Regions from separate parts of the Homo sapiens genome. Here regions 2 and 3 are each linked to region 1. The links are contacts of gene promoters, found by promoter capture Hi-C in blood cells and fetal thymus (Javierre and others, 2016). All regions are on one chromosome and are shown on one strand. The core of a region is centred on a gene start or on the middle of the fragment in contact, and the rest is flanking DNA. Distances in the headings are between cores, read along the strand shown.

Evidence for each region. The method cuts DNA at HindIII sites, captures the fragments that hold promoters and counts their contacts. A CHiCAGO score of 5 or more calls a contact.
Region 2: a fragment that was not itself captured here is called in contact with the fragment with the promoter of TEX47 in region 1 in 1 of 17 cell types (total B cells); the score reaches 5.1 in total B cells.
Region 3: a contact is called between the fragment with the promoter of STEAP2-AS1 here and the fragment with the promoter of TEX47 in region 1, in 14 of 17 cell types (naive CD4 T cells, naive CD8 T cells, activated CD4 T cells and 11 more). The highest score is 19.8, in naive CD4 T cells.

What each region holds. Positions count from the first base shown.
Region 1 is chr7:88,793,583-88,797,571 of GRCh38, reverse strand. It overlaps TEX47 (testis expressed 47), which reads left to right and starts at 1,835. Exons shown (of 2, transcript NM_152706.4): 1 at 1,835-1,932; 2 at 2,526-3,466. The coding sequence starts at 2,630. The coding sequence ends at 3,391. All of the region lies in intron 1 of ZNF804B (zinc finger protein 804B), which reads right to left. The HindIII fragment of the contact is 9,842 bases long and covers 1-3,989 here.
Region 2 is chr7:90,439,000-90,442,988 of GRCh38, reverse strand. No RefSeq gene overlaps it. Among named protein-coding and RNA genes, the nearest start is that of PTTG1IP2, 29 kb to the left of the region's middle. The HindIII fragment of the contact is 3,894 bases long and covers 271-3,989 here.
Region 3 is chr7:90,209,974-90,213,962 of GRCh38, reverse strand. STEAP2-AS1 (STEAP2 antisense RNA 1) reads left to right here and starts at 2,328. Exons shown (of 3, transcript NR_110029.2): 1 at 2,328-2,663. STEAP2 (STEAP2 metalloreductase) reads right to left here and starts at 2,223. Exons shown (of 6, transcript NM_001244944.2): 1 at 1,918-2,223. RefSeq lists a silencer at 2,061-2,120. The HindIII fragment of the contact is 5,296 bases long and covers 939-3,989 here.

The DNA.
Region 1 (3,989 bases), core at 586-3,085:
ATCACACCATTGCCTGTCCCCATGTTCTCTCTGGTTTAATCCATGACTGGAAATTGGAAATAAATACCAGAAGTCACTCTGGATGTGGTGAAGGCAGAGGCTTTGCCTCCCAGCATTCTATGGAGGGAAAGAAAGCAGGGAGGACTTTGTAAAATGAGAATCTTTTTAACTTTATAAAGTAGATGTATCAAAGGGCTTATGGTTTCACACTCTTAGCTGAATTTGTGGGGTGGAGAAATCTAGAAATACTGTGGGTAGAGACCCTTATTATAATCCAAATAAAGAAGTAGGACTATGAAAGAGGTAGTGTAAATCAAGAACCCTTAAGGCATATTAAAGTGAGTAAAAAGACTTAGTAAAAAGAATAGAGTTGGAGTATATAACTTGGATGAAACATGAACAAATAATACCAAGGATTTTGGCCTGGGAACTGAGAGGAAAAAACATGTTAATTTAGACACAAGTGGGGTATTTGTAAAGGGAAACATGTTTAATAAGGAAAATAATTGTTTAAATGTTTTCATTTTAAATTTGAAAAGACAGAGTTACATCCAAGGAGAGAAGAGTTGTGAATAAGTGACTGGAGATAATAATTTGAGAATTTTCTGTGCAAAAATAATCTAGAATGGGAGCTCAGTTTTTTCTTCTTTCTCAACCCCAATTAACTAGTTGTGTCTACCTTGAGACTCAGATTGAAAAATATTTTTAGTCCACAGGTAAGCTCAGAAGGAAAGCCCCATGATCAATTTCCAATTTCAAACGTGCAATCTAGTGGCAAGAGTGGCTTTAAGGACCACTTACCTGCCCTCACAAAAGAGACATATAGATGGTGCTGAGCTAACTGGGCAAAGAAGTAGAGCGAGAGATCCAACCACATCATGAGCGCAGAGCCTAAGTATTTTCCAGAGTTGGATGTGAGAAGGTATTGCCGGGCAAGGCCTCATACAGAGATTTAGAAAGAAATCCAAGAAAGTGCAGTATCATAGAAACCAGGAGAGGAGAGAAGGCCATAATGAAGGCTCTGGTCAACATGGACACTTTCTTCCAACAAAGCTGTAAGAAGAATGAGAGTGAGATAATAACTAGACTGGGCAATGACATGGTTTGGCACCATGGTTTACATCTTCGGAAAGATTGTATTGCTTCAGGGAGTGATAAAGTGAATCACAATGAGGAAGAATAGTCCATTTTTATGTATTACACAATTAATTAATTATTAAGTCACCTCTCTGCCTTCATTTACTTGGATAATTTATCATTGTATTATCATTAAAATTAGATCATTAGTTTGGATAATACAGAACTCAGGGAAAAAATTATTCTTAGGTTTCATTGTTAAAAATTGAATAAACGTTTTTTAAACTTGTTTTAAAATTACTGTTTAGAACTCATGTGGATGCAATTTTAAGAGATGCATCTCTTAAGACACAATTTTAAGAGGTGCATCTCTTAAAATCACATTAAGTTAAGTAAGCCAAATCTTACTATAGAACTTTCTCATCATATATTCACCATTAGATAGATTCAGATATGTGTTCCTGAAGTCTTTAGTTAGTGTCTAAGTAGAACAGAGGAGTTCTACAACCATACTTTTTATTTATCAAACGGAAAAAAAGAAAGGAAAAAGATGTCCAGATTCTCACCATCTGTCTGACTTACAAATGCACCTGACTAAAAATAAACCATTCAGGAATAAGCCATTCACACTTCCTCTGCAGTGACTTTGAAGTGTTTGTCGAGATACCCGTATTAAGAAACTTGGCGCTCTGGTCCTTTAATGGTGCTGACATTCTGACTCACGTATGCCCGAGGGAAGGCAGAACACAGGACAGCTGAGAACACCAGAGGACTGGCAGTTGGGAGCCTGATGGAGGACAAGTAGGGCCTCGAGGACAGGTGCGTGACAGAAGCACAGGAAAAAAAAGAAAAATGGTAAGTTGACCTGGAAAAAAAAATTGAGGAGATTTGTAAGCAGAGTAAGTTAAAGTAGCAGAATACTTTCATGTAGCCCTTACAACAACAAAAACAACAAGAAAACAAATAAAGGGGGGAGAAATGAATCATTTCTGAGATTCGTCGATAGGAGAAAAAACAAAGAACCAAAACTTTTCCCTTGAAATGTTTACTGTTATTATTCAAGGAACATTATTAACTATTAGTGACATGACTAAAGGTTACATAAGCTAATTAGGACTTAAAAAGCCTTGGATTTTTTTTTAAAAGTTATAGATCAGTTAGATTTGTAAAAGAAACTGGAAGAATTACCATAAAATACCATTTTTAAAAAATTTGGCTTATAAAGGACAATCTGTAATCACCATTACATGACATTTACAAAGTTTTTTCCTAGGATATTATTTAACTCTTTCGTTGTAAACTTTTAAAAAAGTCTATAGTTTGAGTATTGTTTTAACATTGTCTTTCATTTCAAATACATTGTTTCCTGATAAAACTGGCAAAAGATTGGGATTTTACTATTTAGTAACATTTGACAAACCGTGATTTACTCTTTTTTTTTTTGTCAGAAGAAATAAAAACACGAGTTCATCAGTAAAGAGGTACCCTGGCAGCATAAATATTATGATAAGCTAAAAGCTGGAATCATCTGGAAAAATAAATAAGACTCCTCATGTCCTTTTCGGTCCATAACCAGAAGGGCAGCAAAAGGCCTTTGCCACTGGAACCTCTTCTTTTTCTCCAAGTCCCACGTAGCAATTACCTGCACTTTCAAGAAGAGAAACAACGACTACACCTAAAGAAATTCCTTCTTGATAGGATGTTTCTAGTGGCCAAGATACAAGCAAATGTAGAAAGAAAAGATGTTGCTGACTACTATGAACAAATGTTTCAGTCAGTTTTGAAACATCACCTAGGAGAAGCAGTGACAGGATTGCTGCTCATCTATCCCACTTCCATTCTGCATATCCTCGAGTCCTCCAGCGACACTCTCTACAAAGTTCTTTTAGATTATATTGGCCATGTCAAAGATGAAACAGTATTTTTTATTCAACAAATGAAAATTATAGTCATTTCTCATAACATTCCAATGAGGCTTTTTATGCAATGGCATGTTTCAGTGATAAAAGTTCCAGTTATGTATCTCGACGATGTGACACAGTCACAGTCCCTAAAGGAGGTCATCACAGATTTTCTCACACAAACTCATAAACTGTCACTCTACCTTTGCCAGACTATGAAAGTAGGCACTAAAGGACCAGGCGATAACTTACACCAAGTTGCACCTGACCTACTCCTCCCAGAACAAATCATAAAGTACTTGTGCAAATCCGAAGAATTCATGGACCCGGCAACATTTATAAACATGTATAATAGACCCATACACATCACTCTGGATTCTGAGGTGGTATGGCCTGCTCCTTCACGTTTCTAGGATTGAGAGGGATAATGTGCCCATGTCTCTTAAGGAGTTTGTGCTACTTAAATAAAAAAAACATTTTTAAAGTTACTGGTGTCTTTTAAAAGAAACAGAACATTGCAATATACACAGAGGTAATATATTAATCTTTATAGAGTATGTTGAGCTAAACTTTAAAATGTATCTATTTGTTGTGGTATTAAGTTCAATACATTATTTTACTAGGTAGATGGGTTTAATAAGTTTATCATAAGCTCTCAAATATTAACATCATTTTCATGAATTGACACTTTTCAAAAAAAAGTATGGCTGAAAAAAGACAAACGGAATTCAGATTATCATCCAATCCCTCAAGAGTTAATAAACAGTCACTACTACATAGCAGAAGTATAGTGTTCTGAGGGTACAAAATCGAGAAGAAAAATCCCACCCTTGAGTTGCTTGCAACCTCAGGTTAGAGGCAAGTACATGTAGAAGTAGTTACGATATGACATATAATGTAATATAATATATCATTATAGTAGCAGTATATAGGAAGGGCTTTGAGAGCACAAGTAAAGGAATAATCACTGTATAATTCCTGCATTCAGAAAACAAAATCTAATTATTGAAA
Region 2 (3,989 bases), core at 968-3,467, 1.6 Mb before region 1:
TAGTCTTAATTCATCCCATTTAGTGTGAGTATTCATATCTTTTATTGCAAAAATATTAATGTGTTTGATGATAGGGAGTTGACCTAGAACCTCTATGTGAACCACATGACCTGTCTAAAATCTGAAAAATTCTGAATTTTGAAACCCACCTCACCCAGGGAGTTTCAGATAATGAATTGTAGATGGTGTCAGGCTTATTACTGATAAAGTTGAATTGAGGAACACACCAGGGCTCCAGAAGTACAGAAGCAGAGTTCTCCAGAGCAAGCTTAGTGTATGGAGGGCAGAGATCTTCCTGGGTTGGAGAACAGACGTCCCCGCAAAGGAGCTGCAGCTGCTCATCCCTTCTCTCAAACTCACCAACTCTCCCAACTCCTCCTGAGGAGGAAGTAAGGGGACAGAACTGAGAAGCTCAAAGAGCTCCTCCCAAATGCTTCCCTCCTAGCGAGTCAAGGGGAAACATGGGTAGGAGGAATAAATGTTCCCTACTAAGAATGGGGTTCTTGTGAAGATTAAATAAAACTGTTTATCTGAATAAAATCATGATTTAGCATAGAACTTGACCCATATGAAACCTCAGGAGCTGTTGCTGTCATTGTTGTTATTGTCTGCATGTAGCTCGTGCACTTGAGTAATTTCTGTCTGGCCTCCATCTCGGGACAGTTTGACCCTCCCCAGCTCTGGTCTCTTTTTGGGGTGGGTAAGAGTTAGGGGGTTGTTTAGAAGAGTTAGTACAGTAATGCAATACATAACGTTTCAGTCAATAACAGACCACGTGTACAACAGTGGGCCCATAAGATTATAATGACACTGAAAAATTCCTATAGCCTGGTGATGTCCTGGACTTTGTAATATTGTAGCACAACATATTACTTATGTTTGTGGTAATGCTGGTGTACCCAAAACTATTGGCTGCCAGTCATATAAAACTAACACACATACAATTCTGTATACTATGTATGATATAGTTTGGCTCTGTGTCCCTACTCAAATCTCATGTCAAATTGTAATCCCACATCTCAGGGAGAGGCCTGGTGGGATGTGATTGAATCACAGAGGCAGATTTCCCCCTTGCTGTTCTCATGATGGTGAGTGAGTTCTCACAAAATCTGATGGTTTGAAAGTGTGTAGCACTTCCCCCTTTGCTCTCTTGTTCTCTCTCCTGCTTTCCCATGCTAAGATGTGCTTGCTTTCCCTTCTCCTTCCACCAGACTGTAAGTTTCCTGAGGCCTCCCAGCCTGCTTTCTGCAGAGCTGTGAGTCAATTAAACCTCTTTTCTTCATAAATTACCCAGTCTCAGGTAGTTCTTTTTTTTTTTTTTTTTTTTCTTAGACGGAGTCTCGCTTTGTCGCCAGGCTGGAGTGCAGTGGCACGATCTCAGCTCACGGCAACCACCACCTCCCGGGTTCAAGCAATTCTCTTGCCTCAGCCTCCTGAGTAGCTGGGACTACAGGCACACACCACCACGCCCGGCTAATTTTGTATTTTTAATAGAGACAGGGTTTCACCATGTTGGCCAGGATGGTCTCTATCTCTTGACCTCGTGATCTGCCTGCCTTGGCCTCCCAAAGTGCTGGGATTACAGGCGTGAGCCACTGCGCCCAGCCTCAGGTAGTTCTTTGTACCAGTGTGAAAACAGACTAAATACAATGTAATACTTGATAACGATAATAAACAACCATGTTACTGATTTATGTATTTACTGTACTCTGATTTTTATTGCTATTTTAGAGTGTAGTCCTTCTAATTATGTATATTAAAAAGTTAACTATAAACCGGCCTTAGGCAGGGTCTTGAGGGGGTATTCCAGAAGAAGTCATTGTTATCATAGGACATGATCACTCCATGCCTGTTATTGCCCCTGAAGAACTTCCAGCGGGACAAGATGTAGAAGTTGGAGGCAGTGATGCTGATGATTTCGACCCTGTGTATGCCTGGGCTAATGTATGTGTTTGTGTCCTATTTTTTACAAAAACTTTTACAAAGTTAAAAAAATTATTAAAAAAGAAAAACGCTTACAGAAAAGGACAGAAAATATTGTGTACAATGTGCTAGGTGTTATTACAAAAGAGTCAAAAAGAAAAATTTAAAGTGTTAAAAGTAAAAAAGTTACAGTAAGCTAAGATTAATTTATTATTGAAGAAATAAAATTTATTCTTATGAATTTAGTGTAGCTTAAGTGTACAGCATTTATAAAGTCTACGGTAGTGTATGATAATGTGTGAGGCCCTCACAATCACCACTCACTCACTGACTCACCCAGAGCAACTTCCAGTCCTGCAGGCTCCATTCATAAGTGTCCTATAAAGGTGTACCATTTTTTATCTTTTATATTTTTTCTGTACCTTTTCTATGTTTAGATATATTTAGATACACAAATACTTACTGTCATATTACAATTGCCTGTGGCATTCAGTATTGTAACATGCTGTACAGGTTTCTAGTCTAGGAGCAATAGGCTATACCATCTAGCCTAGGTGTGTAGTAGGCTATACCAGCTAGGTTTGCGTAGGTACACTCCATGATGTTCGCACAATGACAAAATTGCTTAAGGATGCATTTCTCAGAACATATCCCTGCCATTAAGTGATGCATGACTAGATCACCCTCAAAAAAAGTGCTGGCCCTTACGGGGTAGAGTTCATCTTGTGATTTCATTTTCTCTCTCCTTCTGTCATATTTTCTTTGTTCTGATTTCTTCACTCATTTTATATTTTACTTTCCACTTCATTTTGAAGAAGCTCAGAAGTATTTGCTACTTATTCCACATAAAATATAGATGAAGTCAGCCATGTATAGAAGATAAATCCAAAAATTAAGAGCTCTTACATGACTGAAATTTGGTGGAAGAAATAACTTTCACATCAGATAGTTTTGTATCCAGTTATCTTCTGGCTCCATGAATCAGAGATCTATCTTTTTAAGAGTACTAATGAAGTATATCATTTTTTAAGAAATGCCTGATGAATCAAACTCTTAAAGGATAAAAAGTGTTTAGAAAATCAAGATTCGTGCAAAAGAAAACAATAAAAATCATCCAAATTCATCCACTTTGATATGGTTTGGCTGTGTCCTCACCCATATCTCACCTTGAATTGTAATAATCCCCATGTGTCAAGGGTGGGCCCAGGTGGAGATAATTTAATCATGGGGGTGGTTCCCCCATACTGTTCTCATGGTAGTGAATAAGTCTCACGAGATCTGACGGTTTTATAAATGGGAGTTCCCCTGCACAAGCTCTCTTGCCTGCTGTCACGTAAGATGTCCCTCTGCTCTTCCTTCATCTTCTGCCATGATTGTGAGGCCTCCCCAGCCATGTAGAGCTGTGAGTCCATTAAACCTCTTTCCTTTATAAATTACCCAGTCTTGAGTATATCTCTATTAGCAGCATGAGAACAGACTAATACACACTCTGAGATCATTGTTCACATCTTGGTGTATACCCATCCAATCTTTCTTCTTTGCATAAATATTATTTTCTATGCCAAGCGTGGTGGCTCACGCCTGTAATCCTAGCACTTTGGGAGGCAAAGGTGGGCAGATCATCTGAGGTTAGGAGTTCAAGACCAGCCTGCTTTAACATGGCAAAACCCCATCTCTACTAAAAATACAAAAAATTAGTCAGATGTGGTGGCGGGCATCCATAATTCCAGCTACTCGGGAGGCTGAGGCAGGAGAATCGCTTGAACCCGGGAGGCAGAGGTTGCAGTGAGCCAAGATCATGCCACTGCACTCCAGCCTGGGTGACAAGAGTGAAACTCCATCTCAAAAAAAAATATTATTTTCCAAAGGAAGATCATATTTTACTTACCATTTTATAACTTGCTCTTTCAGTTTACTATAGATATTAAATATCTTCCCATGATATTAAATATTATTTTAAAAATAATTTTTATAACAGAAGAAATGTGTGTTCATGATAATACATTCAAGTAGTAGAGAACTGTATCTGTATAGAGGTAAAAGTAAAATTCTGCTTATCTTGCCAA
Region 3 (3,989 bases), core at 1,079-3,578, 1.4 Mb before region 1:
CTGAATGAGTTAGTCCCCGCTTCCCCTCTCTAACCTTATCTGTATATTGTCCACCCACAGCATTCTCTTCTAGAAAGAGAAAACAACAACCACTTTATGTACCTTGGGAGCTTTCCATATACTGTTCCATCTCTATAGCAGAATAATTCACTCAGCCCTTGTTAAATTTATTTTGTAATATTTTATATAATTGTTTCTTTACTGTTTACTATTTCCCCCATTGGACAATAAACTGCACGAGGGAAGAACCATGTTTGTCTTGTCCGTGATCACTGCCTCCACATTGGCTGGCAGTGTAACTAAGGATGCAATAAAAATTCTTTGTTATGGAATACATCAAAAAAATTCAGGACAAAAAGACATGTAATAATTCTCTAGATCAGATTTCTCTTTTTGCTGAAAACACATGTGGGCCCTTAAGGGGTAGGTGATTTATCAATGTTATTGTTATGTTAATGTCTCAGTTACCTCAATGTCCTGGTTTCTGGCCCAGCAGGGATAAATACATCTCCTGATGTCCTATGTCCTTTATCACGCCTGCAGTCTTACTCTTTCACATTTTTGGTGTATCTTCTTTCTCACTTTTCTAACTCATTTACAATCCTTTCTTTAAAAATTTGTCTTCACCTGTCCTGTTTTTTCAGTACTAAAATACAACTATGTTCATTCACCACATTTTCCATAGCACCAGTACAATAAAAAGTGACTTGGATAAAGCTTTTCATTTCCTTACTGCACAATTTGCTCAAGTTGTCATTCTCAATATTGTCTCATTTCCCCATACCCTGACAGAGTGACTAGCTAAGAGGCAGAGAGTGCAGCCATCCCAATGGCAGCACACATAGTTACTCTTTATGTTTCTAAACATCCTGCAAATTATTTAGGACGGGTGTTTTGTTTTGTTTTGTTTTGCTTTTCCATTAAATAGCCTCTAAGCTTTGAAGCAACCAAGAGAGAATCGGAGTAAAAAAATTATAGGGTTAAAGAAAGAAAAAATAAACAGATCAATAAAATGAAGAAATAATAAAGTGGAGAAAAGGAAGGATGGGGAGGTGGTTTAGAAAACAAAAAGGGTTCCAAGCAGCGGGGCTGTTAAAAGGACCAGAATCTAAGTCAGGAGGTTGGGGGTGGGGGTGGGGGTGGGGCAGGAGTCTGAATTCTTTTTCTCCTATACTGATGAGCGATAATTAACTATGGCCTGGACTGTCTTTCCATCTAAAAAACTAACTGCCCGAGGAGTAAAAACTGACACCAATCCTTCTCCACGGGGTGGGAGAGATAATAAATGGAAATCTTCCAACAAAAATGCTCTTTATCTCTCTGCTCTATTTTAAGAGCAAGATTTTTAGGGCATAATTTTCAACAAGTTTTGGCTGAGGCTGAACACAGGGTTCAAAGATAATTTAGGACAGTCAAAGAAGAGGCCAATTACTTTCTAACAGAAATGGCCTAAACACCACGATTACATTACTGGGAAATAAACCAAATGACTGCTAGAAATACCTGTTCGCAAAGCAGCACTGCATGATCTTCCATGAAATGCCCTGCATCAACCCAAAGTAGCAGGGAGACTATCAAGGGGGCGAAAGTAACCTGCCTGTCCTTTCCTGCTGGGACACATCCTACCTGGGACAATGTCTCCTTGCCTTCTTTCTCCTGGGCCCAACCTCAGGACTTGCCCTTAGCTCTAGGAACCAAGAGGAGGAGGAGGGGGAATCAGTGGAACAGACACCCTTCTCCACCCTTCTCACTTTCCACCTTAAGGTGCCAGGAGATGAGGGACCCCGCAGCTCAGGGCGGACGCCCGGTGAGGGCGCAGAATCGGGGAGGATGGATGCAGCGCGTGGCGCAGACTGCATCTTGACCCTCAACTCCGCCGCCGCTACCTTCTTTCGCGCTCCTCCCCGACCCGCTCACCTCCGCGCCCCCCGCGCCCTCCACGCCGGGCAGGGGCGAGCCTTGCAGCTCCCCGGGAGCGGCGCCGACTCCCCAAGGGCCCACCCGGGGGCCAGGGCCTACGGACTGCACCTCCGACTGGCGGTTGCAGGGTGGCTGCCGCGGCGGTCGCACTCCAGCTGCTTCCCCGCCTACCCAAGCTGGATCGCGAACAGCCAGGGGAGAAGGAAGGAGGGAGGCGCGCGGAGGCCGGCTTGGCAGCGACGCGCCGCTAGGGGCTGCGTGCCCGGACAGCTCGTGGCGCCGAGGGCCCGAGGAACGCTGACTGGAGTCGGGAAGAGCCGTGGAGCGCGGGGAGGAGTCGGGGAGCTCGGAGGGGGCGGGGGTGTGTGAAGGGAGCCGGGCTGTGTGGAGGGAGCTGGGAAGGGCCCAGAGCACCGAGGGGGAGCCAGCAGTGAGTGCACTGGGGAGCTCCACACACGCGGCTCCGCAGCTTTGCGCGCCCTTCTACCGCGAGCGGCTGAGTATCCGCCTGGCTCCCCTGCGGGGTTCCTCCGTGGTCTTCCGGAGATTCTTTCTGAAGCAGCTTTAGAATAGTCAAGCCTATTTTTCTACTCCATTTCTTTTTGTAATGTGGGGTCACCTTTCCGCTCTAGAAATTGCTTTTCTTACGCGATTCCCACCCCAACTCTCGCCAAGGGCCCTGGTTCTCATCTCCCCAGTCTTAGCTTCTGACAAGCCTCCAAGAAACTGCGCTTTTTTCTTTTGTAAGTGTTCTTTTGCCTCATGTTTACCCTATCCCAAACGTCTTTTGACTAGACTGTGTCCTTGGAATAAAATGTTCGGAAATGCCCTTTCATGAAAACTCCCTCGGATAGGAGGACCCTCACAGACCCTGGACTGCAGAGATTATTCTGTTGACTTTGACCTTCACTCTAGCTGGTGCCGCGCGAGCTTTGGTGTGGGGGAAAGGAAGGTTAGGCCGTGAGTCAGGAGACCTGTGTTCCTGCGAAAGCCATTTACCTTCTGGGGCCGCAATGGCTTTGAATGTTTCAGGGGATCCCCTGAGAGCACCTTTGGCTCTGGGTTTCTGTAAATTTTCTCCCTGCGGATTACCAAGTAAAAGTACCTTTTATCTTTTGTGTAGAAGGTGTCAGTAGAAGAAGCAAGAGATCTTTATTCCCAAATATAAAATCAACTTACCAAAAATTCTCAAATTTGGGGAAATTTTTTTCATACATTAGTAAAGTACCATTTCAACAAATTAAGTTTAAAAATTATCCCTCTAGGTGGTTTATTAACCAGACCAAAAAAACCCAACAACAACAACAACGAGAGGGGGGTCTTAGATCGATCACTGGGGCACTGCACTTTCCCCTTTGTAGTCCATACACAGATTAACCTTTGTAAATGCTGCTTTGGAAATACATCCTTTGTTTGACTTGAAATGTAACCCCTCCCCTACCGCCAAATATTATTAAGGTTTAAAGTTTAGGCAGAAGCTAAGGTTTTAACGATGTGTCAGGGTGTGGAACCATCGACAGCTGGTAGAATACTTTCCATTTTGGTTACTGGAAACAAGTCATTAAATCTAATATCAATTTTAATAATTTCACTTCAACAAAACTGTCAAATAATGAGATTCGTGGAGTTTTTTCTAGTAGTTCCTCTGGAGAACTTGTGGAGAAAATTCATGAATCTTAGCAGTTAACGGAAAGTATATTGCTTTTCCATATATTTTAAAAAACTATAGAATTATATAACTTCCCCACGGGGATATTAAAAGAAATTGCACTTTCTAACTTCTATAACCATAAATTATCATGTAAAACATGTAGGTAAGCCATATATTTTAAATATGTTTAAAAGCTCTCTTAACATGGGCTTTGACTATTGAGAAAATAGATAAAGTAATGTGAAATCCCTTTTCCTAAATGAGAATCAGTGAGTCAACAATTTGCAGCTTCCAAAAGGGATATCTCTTTTTCATGCTTGAACTATTAAAATAAACAAATATCTTTGATGGGAAATCTAATGTTACCAAATGTGTTCCAGAAGACTGTTGGTGTTAATGCAAAGCATGATTCCTTTAA